Regions from separate parts of the Homo sapiens genome. Here all the other regions are linked to region 2. The links are contacts of gene promoters, found by promoter capture Hi-C in blood cells and fetal thymus (Javierre and others, 2016). All regions are on one chromosome and are shown on one strand. The core of a region is centred on a gene start or on the middle of the fragment in contact, and the rest is flanking DNA. Distances in the headings are between cores, read along the strand shown.

The links. The method cuts DNA at HindIII sites, captures the fragments that hold promoters and counts their contacts. A CHiCAGO score of 5 or more calls a contact.
Region 1: a fragment that was not itself captured here is called in contact with the fragment with the promoter of BPNT2 in region 2 in 1 of 17 cell types (activated CD4 T cells); the score reaches 7.1 in activated CD4 T cells.
Region 3: a contact is called between a fragment that was not itself captured here and the fragment with the promoter of BPNT2 in region 2, in 1 of 17 cell types (non-activated CD4 T cells). The highest score is 12.7, in non-activated CD4 T cells.

Annotation. Positions count from the first base shown.
Region 1 is chr8:52,713,601-52,716,349 of GRCh38, forward strand. It overlaps RB1CC1 (RB1 inducible coiled-coil 1), which reads right to left and starts at 835. Exons shown (of 24, transcript NM_014781.5): 1 at 475-835. RefSeq lists silencers at 290-759, 790-959 and enhancers at 1,020-1,329, 1,350-1,399. The HindIII fragment of the contact is 3,580 bases long and covers 1-2,749 here.
Region 2 is chr8:56,992,541-56,995,240 of GRCh38, forward strand. It overlaps BPNT2 (3'(2'), 5'-bisphosphate nucleotidase 2), which reads right to left and starts at 1,327. Exons shown (of 5, transcript NM_017813.5): 1 at 659-1,327. The coding sequence starts at 1,045. RefSeq lists a silencer at 884-1,443. The HindIII fragment of the contact is 2,693 bases long and covers 1-1,684 here.
Region 3 is chr8:61,720,853-61,723,552 of GRCh38, forward strand. No RefSeq gene overlaps it. Among named protein-coding and RNA genes, the nearest start is that of MIR4470, 7.4 kb to the left of the region's middle. RefSeq lists enhancers at 370-966, 760-1,959. The HindIII fragment of the contact is 8,516 bases long and covers 1-2,700 here.

The DNA of each region.
Region 1 (2,749 bases), core at 25-2,524, 4.3 Mb before region 2:
ACTCCACTCTCCCGTTTCTCGAGTCCAACACAGAATTAAGGGCTGATCCCTGGCAGCGATGAGCACAAGTCAAGATGCGTCTTGGGAGGTTCGGACGTCCCTCGCCCTCGGCCACTCCGGCAACTAGGCCGGGTACTAAGCGGCAGCGCAGAGGGAGGGATCCCAAGGCTCCGGCCGAGGAAGCCGCAGGCAGCCCCGCAGCACGAGTCCGACCCACACCTCCGGCAGCCTAGTGGAGCATCGACTCGAACCGCTTTTGTCTCCACAGGGGCTGTCGCGCCGGGAAAGCGGCCAGTGGGCAACACCTGCCGGGGCGGGAGGCGCCGGGGCCCTCCCGTGCACACACCTGCGCGTGGGCCGGGCTCAGGCCGACCGGAACCCTGGACCATGCGACCCCGGCCCACCGTGCCAGGGCCCGCCGCGCGACCGCTGTGCCAGATGGGGGAAGGGGACGCGGGCGGCGGCGACACTTACCCGGCAACGCCTCCTCCTTCGCCGGCGGCAGCAGCAGAGCCAGCGACCCCCGGCACCATCTTCCGCCGCCGCCTAGTCCTCGGCAGCGGTTACCAACCGCCCATTCGGCACCGCTAAGCCGACACAACCGCCGGCGTCCCGGGCGCCCGCCCGCCGCGGCCCCGAACTCTAGGAGGCAGGGAGGGGTCCGGGCGGACAAGGACGCGAGCAGGCCCCTCGGCTCTGGGTCTGGGGCCGGGGGACAGAAGGCCGCGGCCTGTCAGAGCCGAGGGGCCCAGGCGACTGGGGGATTCTGAGGCAACGCCGAGGGCTCGGCAGGGCCGCGGACACCGCCGCGGCTTGGTTTGTTATTGTCGACTCCGTCTCTTCCTCCGCGGCGCATGCCGGGAAACGGCCTGCCGGGGGAGGGGCGCGCCTGGAGGCGCAGAGAGGCGTCTACGCAGGTCCGGAAGTCGGCAGCCTGCCGGGAAGGGGGCGGCCCCGCCTCCGGCTCTCCGGCCGGCAGGTTGGCTGTCCTGGCCTGACCCTGGGAGACTCCGCTGGGGCCGCCTGTTATGGTGCTAGCTGCCGTCCCGGTGCGTACTTTCCCAAGGTGAATTTGACCTTCTTTGCGACAGCTAGGCCCTGACTAAGGTCGACCCACCAAACACTGGATCGTCCCCAGGCGAAAGAGAGCTTGTTCCCCTCAGCCTGTCGCGGAGGAGCGGAGCCAATCGAGGGTCTGGTGTCCCCGTCGCCTCTCCAGGGGCAACCTGCGGACTAGGCCAAGGTCTGTAACAGGATAACGTACCAGCGCCTGGCCCAGGCGTTCCTGCCGCCACCTCCCCGCATATCCGGACCGCCGGGACTGCACGCAGCTGGCAAGCGTCCCCCTGTTAACTCTGCAAGGGTGGGGCGGCACCATTTCTCAGACCAGGTAAGGCAAGAAAACATGCAAGAGAGAAGAGAGGGAAGCCTAGGCCAATCGGAATGAAAATGTAAACGCCACAACCACGTTTTCAGCTTTACAAATACTGAATCTTGTAGTGGGTCTAGTGGGTTAGGGGTTAGCATGAGCACCCTAATGGTTGGGAGACAGTTTCAGGGGACTCTTGCATTTGTGAAGATGATCAGTCACAGGCAATGACTTGAAGCCACGAGGCTTGAATATTAAAATCTGATGAGCAGATGTTACACGTAGAATAATTACATAATAGTTCTCAAATTCCTGTTATATCCAGGAATATCTGGTATGAGTGAAAACTTGGAGGTGCCTTCTCTAAAGTCATCAGGAATTCTGAGTTGTGTTTGTAAAAATAGGAGGCACAAGAGGGCACCAAACTGAACAAAATGTTAGGTGGAAACTGAAAAACGTTGGTTAGCATGAACAATTTCAGTTTTCAGTCACACTGACCAGTATCTGTAAGTTAGGATTGAGATGGGCTTGTTTTATTTATTTACTTTTAAATTTGTGCTGCTACATATCCCAAACAAATGTGGTCTTTATCATCACTGGCAAGCCATTTTACTTATTGGTTAAGCTGGAATTTTATTACACCACCCCAGCAAGATAGAGGAGAAAAGCGAAAATTAAGTAGTAAATGGTTATTATGCCTTAAGGGAAGGTGTGAACTGGCAAGACAAAAGAGCCAAATTTAGTAGTAAAGCATAGTCATCAGCACACAGAAAATAAGTGGTGAGGAGGAGTTTGGCCAGAAAATTGGCTAAGAAAAATGGCAGTATGACCAAGAATGAAAAGAAAAAGAAAGAAAAGAAAAACTGCAGTATGAGGCCTGTAAAGAACGTATTGGTACTTGCACTTCCTCTTATTAGTGACATTCATTATTACAAATATAACCCAATTTAGAATGTAAAAATCTTGCTGGAGCTCGGTGCAGTGGCTCACACCTGGAATCCCAGCACTTATGGGAGGCCGAGGCAGGAGGATTGCTTGAGCCCAGGAGTTGGAGACCAGCCTGGGCAACGTAGTGAAACCCCTTCTCTACAAAAAATACAAAAATTAGCTGGGCGTGGTGATGCACACCTGTGGTCCCAGTTACTCAGAAGGCTGAGGTGGGAGAATCAGTTGAGCCCAGGAGGTCGAGGCTGCAGTGAACCATCATGGCACCACTGCACTCCTAGCCTGGACAACAGATTGTTGCCCTGTCTGAAAAATAAAAAAAAATTTCTGAACTATGCCAGTGATAATCTGGTAAATTATAAATGTTGTCTGACTTTTTTCTTTGGAAAATGAATTAATTCAGTCCTAACCTTCTCTCTTAATCACAGGTTGCAA
Region 2 (2,700 bases), core at 77-2,576:
TTCTCTGGAGTAAATATGGATCTTTAATCAAGGGCCAGGTAGGACCAACAGCTGGTATATTTCTAAGTACCTCCTTAAAGGGCCCGCAAACTATAAACTTTAGAGCGTCCTGACAAAAAGACAGCGAAATGAGCATACTCATCCCCCACCCCCCCACCCCGACTCCCGCGAGCGCACACACGCACACACAAATGCCCCGCACACTAACAGCTCTGCAACAAGACTCGGTCTTTCAGCTGGCTACTGGCAGGCCACCCAGAAAATGTGTACTCCAGTTTCGACCCTTCTAGGGATGAAATCAAGGAAGGATAGAGAGTCTTGGTGGATTTTAGCCAACCCCTTAATTCTACAGAGGAGCCTGAAGCTGCGGGTGCAATTAACTTTGTCAGCCTTTTCGTTTCAAGGCCTTCTGATCCCAGGTACACACGGCGCACACCCGACCCAGGACGAGCCAAAAGGGCACGGGCCCTGAGTCAGACTACGTGCAACCTCACCCAGCTCCTCTGCTGTCTGTCTGACCTTGTGCACGTTAACTTCTGCGTCTCAATTTCCACATCTACAAAATGGAACCAGAAGCTCCACATCCCATACTGTTAAGAGTCGACGGGCCGAGACGCGCTACCCGGCTCGAGTGGGCGCTCCGCCCGTGGGCTCCCACCTGGACGCTGGGGAAGGCGGTCTTGAGCAGGTAGAACATCTTGCGGTTGGACAGCACGTCGCCGCTGGTCATCTTGTCCTCGGCTCCCTCGCGCGTCTTCCCCTTGGACTTCTCGTGGAGGACGTTGCTCTCGCGGACGCGCCTCACCTCGTCGCCGCCGCGGACTGCGGCCAGCACTGACACAGCCAGCATCTCGCGCAAGTCCACGGTGCCCCCATCGGCCGCGGCCGCGGGCCCCGCCGCGCCGCCGCCAGGCTCGCCGCCCAGGCCGAAGAGGCTGAAGCGGCCGGCCAAGAAGCCCGAGTAGAGGTGGTAGAGCACGCCGAGCCCCAGCAGGCAAAACACTGCCACCCCCAGTGGGGAAAGGCGGATGCCCATGGGGGCCATGGCGTGGGAAGCCGGGCGCTCCGGGCTGCGGCTCTCACAGGCCTCCAGCGCCCGCCGCCGCCGCCGCCGCAGCCGCCGCGCTCCGGGCCAGGCGCCGCGCGGGCTACACTGGCGCCCGCTCCCCGGCCCCGGTGCGCCCCATCACTCCCTCCCAGGAAAGGCCGAGTTGCGCCGCGAAGACCACCAACGCCGCCCCGCGCGCCTGACTCGCCAGGCAGCGCGCTCTAGGTTCTTCCGCCGGCCGGCTGGTCCGACTTCCACGTTAGCCTACGGCCGCGAGGTGAAAGGGGAGCGTGGGTGTGTATCCGGGTTACGCGACGGGGCGGGGCGAGGGCGAGGGCGAGGGGCGGGGAGAGCTGGGCACCTCCCCTTGGGGCGGGGCGGGGCGGGACAGGAGGCGCTGGACTGAGCTGCCTTCCTTGGTCTGGGTGGGAAGGTATTCCTGGAAGTGGCGAGCAGCAATCCGCACAGGACAGTGTGCTGTGCTGAGTGCCTTGTGGGTGTTTAAATTAAATATCCCATTGTACGACTATGGCTGGCTGTAATAAACCCACAGTAACAGTCTAGTCTTCTCATCACTCTCAGATTATTGAGGAATGGAGGAAAACACAATAAACCATTTTAAAAGATTGATTTGCAAGCTTTTTTAGCCAGCGGGGGTGTAGACAGCCTGTACCTTTAAGTCGCTTCTCCGCGCTCTTCCCGGCAGGACGGGGAACTGGGCGGTGAGGGGAAGAATTGTACTTGGCTCTTCATTCTGTTGACATCTTTGTCGTGCCCTAAATGCTTATGTGTGTATAGAGTTTCTCTCCTCCACCTGCCAGAATAAACCATCCTCGAAGCAGCTGAAAAACATGCCTTGATCCGGGTTTTTCATAATGAAAGAAAGCAAACCAGGCTTCTCTCATTTCCAAGGGTACTCGAGCCTGGCTCTCCTACCAGAGCTTAAGAAGAGGAATTGCTTGACAGAGTCCACTTAAAATAGAGGTTATCCGGAGATGGTCAGTCTAGAACATGTAATCTTTGAGTCAGCGTAGGCTCTCGAAGTATTTTGACAGAAATAACTACCTTCTACTATAACACCGATCTTAGCTAGAATGATAGTGAATACTTTATAAGTATTCATGAGTTTATCTTTAATCTTAAAAGTGAATATTAAGATGTATAGTATTGTTCTTAAATGTTAAAATATCTATATAAATCAACTTAAAATGTAGCCTGTTTTACTGTTCATAGCAAAACAGCATTGGTTTTAAGTGGACTTTAGAATTAACCACCTGAAAAACTGCAAGTATACCAAACTTCTAAACATCCATTGCTAAGCAAGTCATGTAGAGCCTGACCTTTACCGCTTACTTAGAGTTCAGGGCATCCCTAGAATTTGCATGTGATTATACACATACAACAAAAGCACTGCCAGATTATACACATACAACAAAAGCACTGTGATTTCCCTGCCAGAATCACAGCACAAAATCAAGTACAAATACAAATCAGTGAAAGAACAATCCCTAGAGTATTGACAGCACCAGAACTTAAAGAACTAGCATTGCCTTTCTTGTCAGCTTTTGAGAGTAACTTTGCAATGAAGCAAAGCTGCTTTCAAATATCTAAAAGTGAATGTCACAGAGTAATTCTCAAAACCCATCCCAGGG
Region 3 (2,700 bases), core at 111-2,610, 4.7 Mb after region 2:
GCAGGCAGCCGTGAATAGCTGAAGTAAGAAATCAAAAAGCAAGCATAGGAAGAAAATGAACATTGTATGGATCTGTGCAGTAATCACTTAGGGAATATGGTAGCTTGACGTAGATAAAGAACTACATTTAAGGAATACCTACTTAAAATGTGAAACCTAACCAATGTTAAACAGATAGGCTGCCAACTCTCTGCAATTATGATAGCTTCACAAAATCGATGTGACTTCAAATCAGAACAGCATAAGACAGAGAAGATCATCTATGAATGACATAAAACTAGGAGGGGAGACAGCAGAAAAAAAAAGATGTGTTCCATTAGCTAAGTTTGACTGGGTCTTTTTGTTGTTTTCTATTTCCAAGTTAGGAGAGGTTGGATCTAATGCCAGAATTATGGTCAATCTTATTTGTAGTTGGTTGGACATGTGTGCATGAACAATAAGAACTTGGTAAATTTCACATAAGTTGTTGTACACTGTCAGTTTATATTTCATCTAATCCTTAAAAAAAGGAAGTTAAGTCTTGAGTTAAAAGGATCATTTCAAGTATTAAAGATCTCCAAGTGGACTCATTAGGCTCAAATTCAGGTCTGCTCAAATTCAAGGTTAGACTCAAATTAGACTCAAATTCAAGGTTCTGCTTACTGAGAAAGAGCAGACATTAAAAACAGCAAATCTCACTGAATGATGCTTATTCAAGTCTAATTCCTGCTTGCGCATGCAGGCTGACTCATAACACAGGCGGTCATAGGGGAGGAGCGGTCATCACTAAGCACTACTATGTGCTCCTCATGCCTCATCAACCTTTGCCGCCAAGCACCAAGGAAAGGTGTGTGGGATGCCTCTGCCCCCTGCCCCTTCTGCTCTTTTCTAATGGCTTTTCTCCTTCAAACTGCCTTTGATGGAAACCTCATTTGACACATGTTGGGCACAAAGAAAAGGAGAGAATTCAGAGTCACCTGTAGGTCTCTTACCCTCTGGCCATTTTTCTCTGACCTGTCATCAATGAAGGCCTGGGAGATACTGTGGACTCAGAATTAAAACATTTTCCTTGGTTGAGGCTAAAAGGTGGGTTAAAAGTCCTGTAATTCTTGAGAAGAATCCCCACCAATCAACAGAAAATCCTCCTTCCTCCTGTCCCCACTCTCAGGACTCCCAGGGAAAATGCAAGTTGTTGGGGTAGAAAGATGGCATGTTCAGCATGACTGGCAAAAATTTGGCCTGCCTCTGGCTCTGATCCTGCAGAATAACAATTCTGTAATAAGTAAGGCACCAAGCCAGAGATATTGGCCAAAGGAATTTACAACTGGGAGTAGGGGGTGGGGTGACATTACCAATAGGCAACAGTCCAAGGCCTGCAAAGGACGCTGTACTGACAGAATTCCATCTCTCTCTGACCCACTGTTTTCTGCAAGGCAAGCACAGCAACCATTTCAGAAGCCCTCACTCCAGACTGGGCATACCTCTTTTCAGTTATTCTAGCAGGAGTGGAGAAGAGGTTCTTGCAGTTGCTACCATCTGCAGGTAGTAATCAGAATTTAAGATAGTTAAGGAGAGAATTGCTATATGGCAGTTGTACCTGACAGCAATAACATAACTTAAGCATACCTTGAGAATAACCCTATGATCTAAAAAGAATGTGTGTTCAGAGTTCCAAACTAAGGAATCTGGGAGTGGCCAACCTGAAAATTCATTTCTTATCTATGAGCAAAATCTAAACCTCTAGCCCATTCTGTGGAAGGCAGGCTGTAGAGGGGATGGAGGCCCTTTGTTTTGGGTTAAATGAAGGTTGCCAAGTAGAGGTTGCTAGGGGGAGGGTACTAAGTGAAAATGCTATATAAACTACTTGCTTTTTTATAAGCAGTTGTTGTTCTCCTGCCCAGGGCACTGCCAGTGGACCCCTTGTATTAAGTCCTCTTAATAAACCCTATGTCTTGTTTGCCGGCTCCAGTTCCCTTCTTCGGCCTTTGAACCTGGTGCCTTCCCTACTGAAGTTAATAGGGGGCCAGCATGACAACCTCATGTTACTCCTTCTGTTCCCCTCCCAGCCTTACAGGGCCTACCACATTGTCAGCTGGTCCTTGGGCCAGTGGTGGGTAATGTAACGATCCTTTGTGATACCTTCTCTGCAATATTCCCTGCACCGAAAAGATTACCAGTCTCCAAAGCCGTGATTCTGTGGTTGCTCTGAACACTCTCCAACTGTTTTCTGAATGGCCAAAAGCTGGAACAATAACCAAAAGATGGAAGTGCCATTTCCCCAACTTATGAGGTAATAGTCTCATGGCAGTGACTGATAGCTGGCTTCCCCGCACTGTCCCTGACTCTTCCTAGGCTTTCTTCCACATATTCTTACTTCCTTATTGCCAACTCATCCCCCTCAGAAGTCCAAATGTAATTAGAACTGTCAAGAAGGATTCCAGAGTTCCTCGCTTTATCCTGTGCATCTTCGGGGCCACTGCCACTGTCAATACGTTCCTTCTAAAGGGACAGGGGGCAGAGCTACAGGGACATGGCACTTTCACTCCAACTCAACCTCTGTCACCCCGATGAGCTCTCCCCATGCTCGGGAATCTTGGGGTCCAAGGCCTCTCTCTTCTCCATCTCCTTGTTCCAGTTTATAAATTAGATTTGCTCCCAATTTCTTAATTCATGAAGTTTCCTCTGCCTAACCATTTTCAAGGAAACTGAATATTTGTGTTT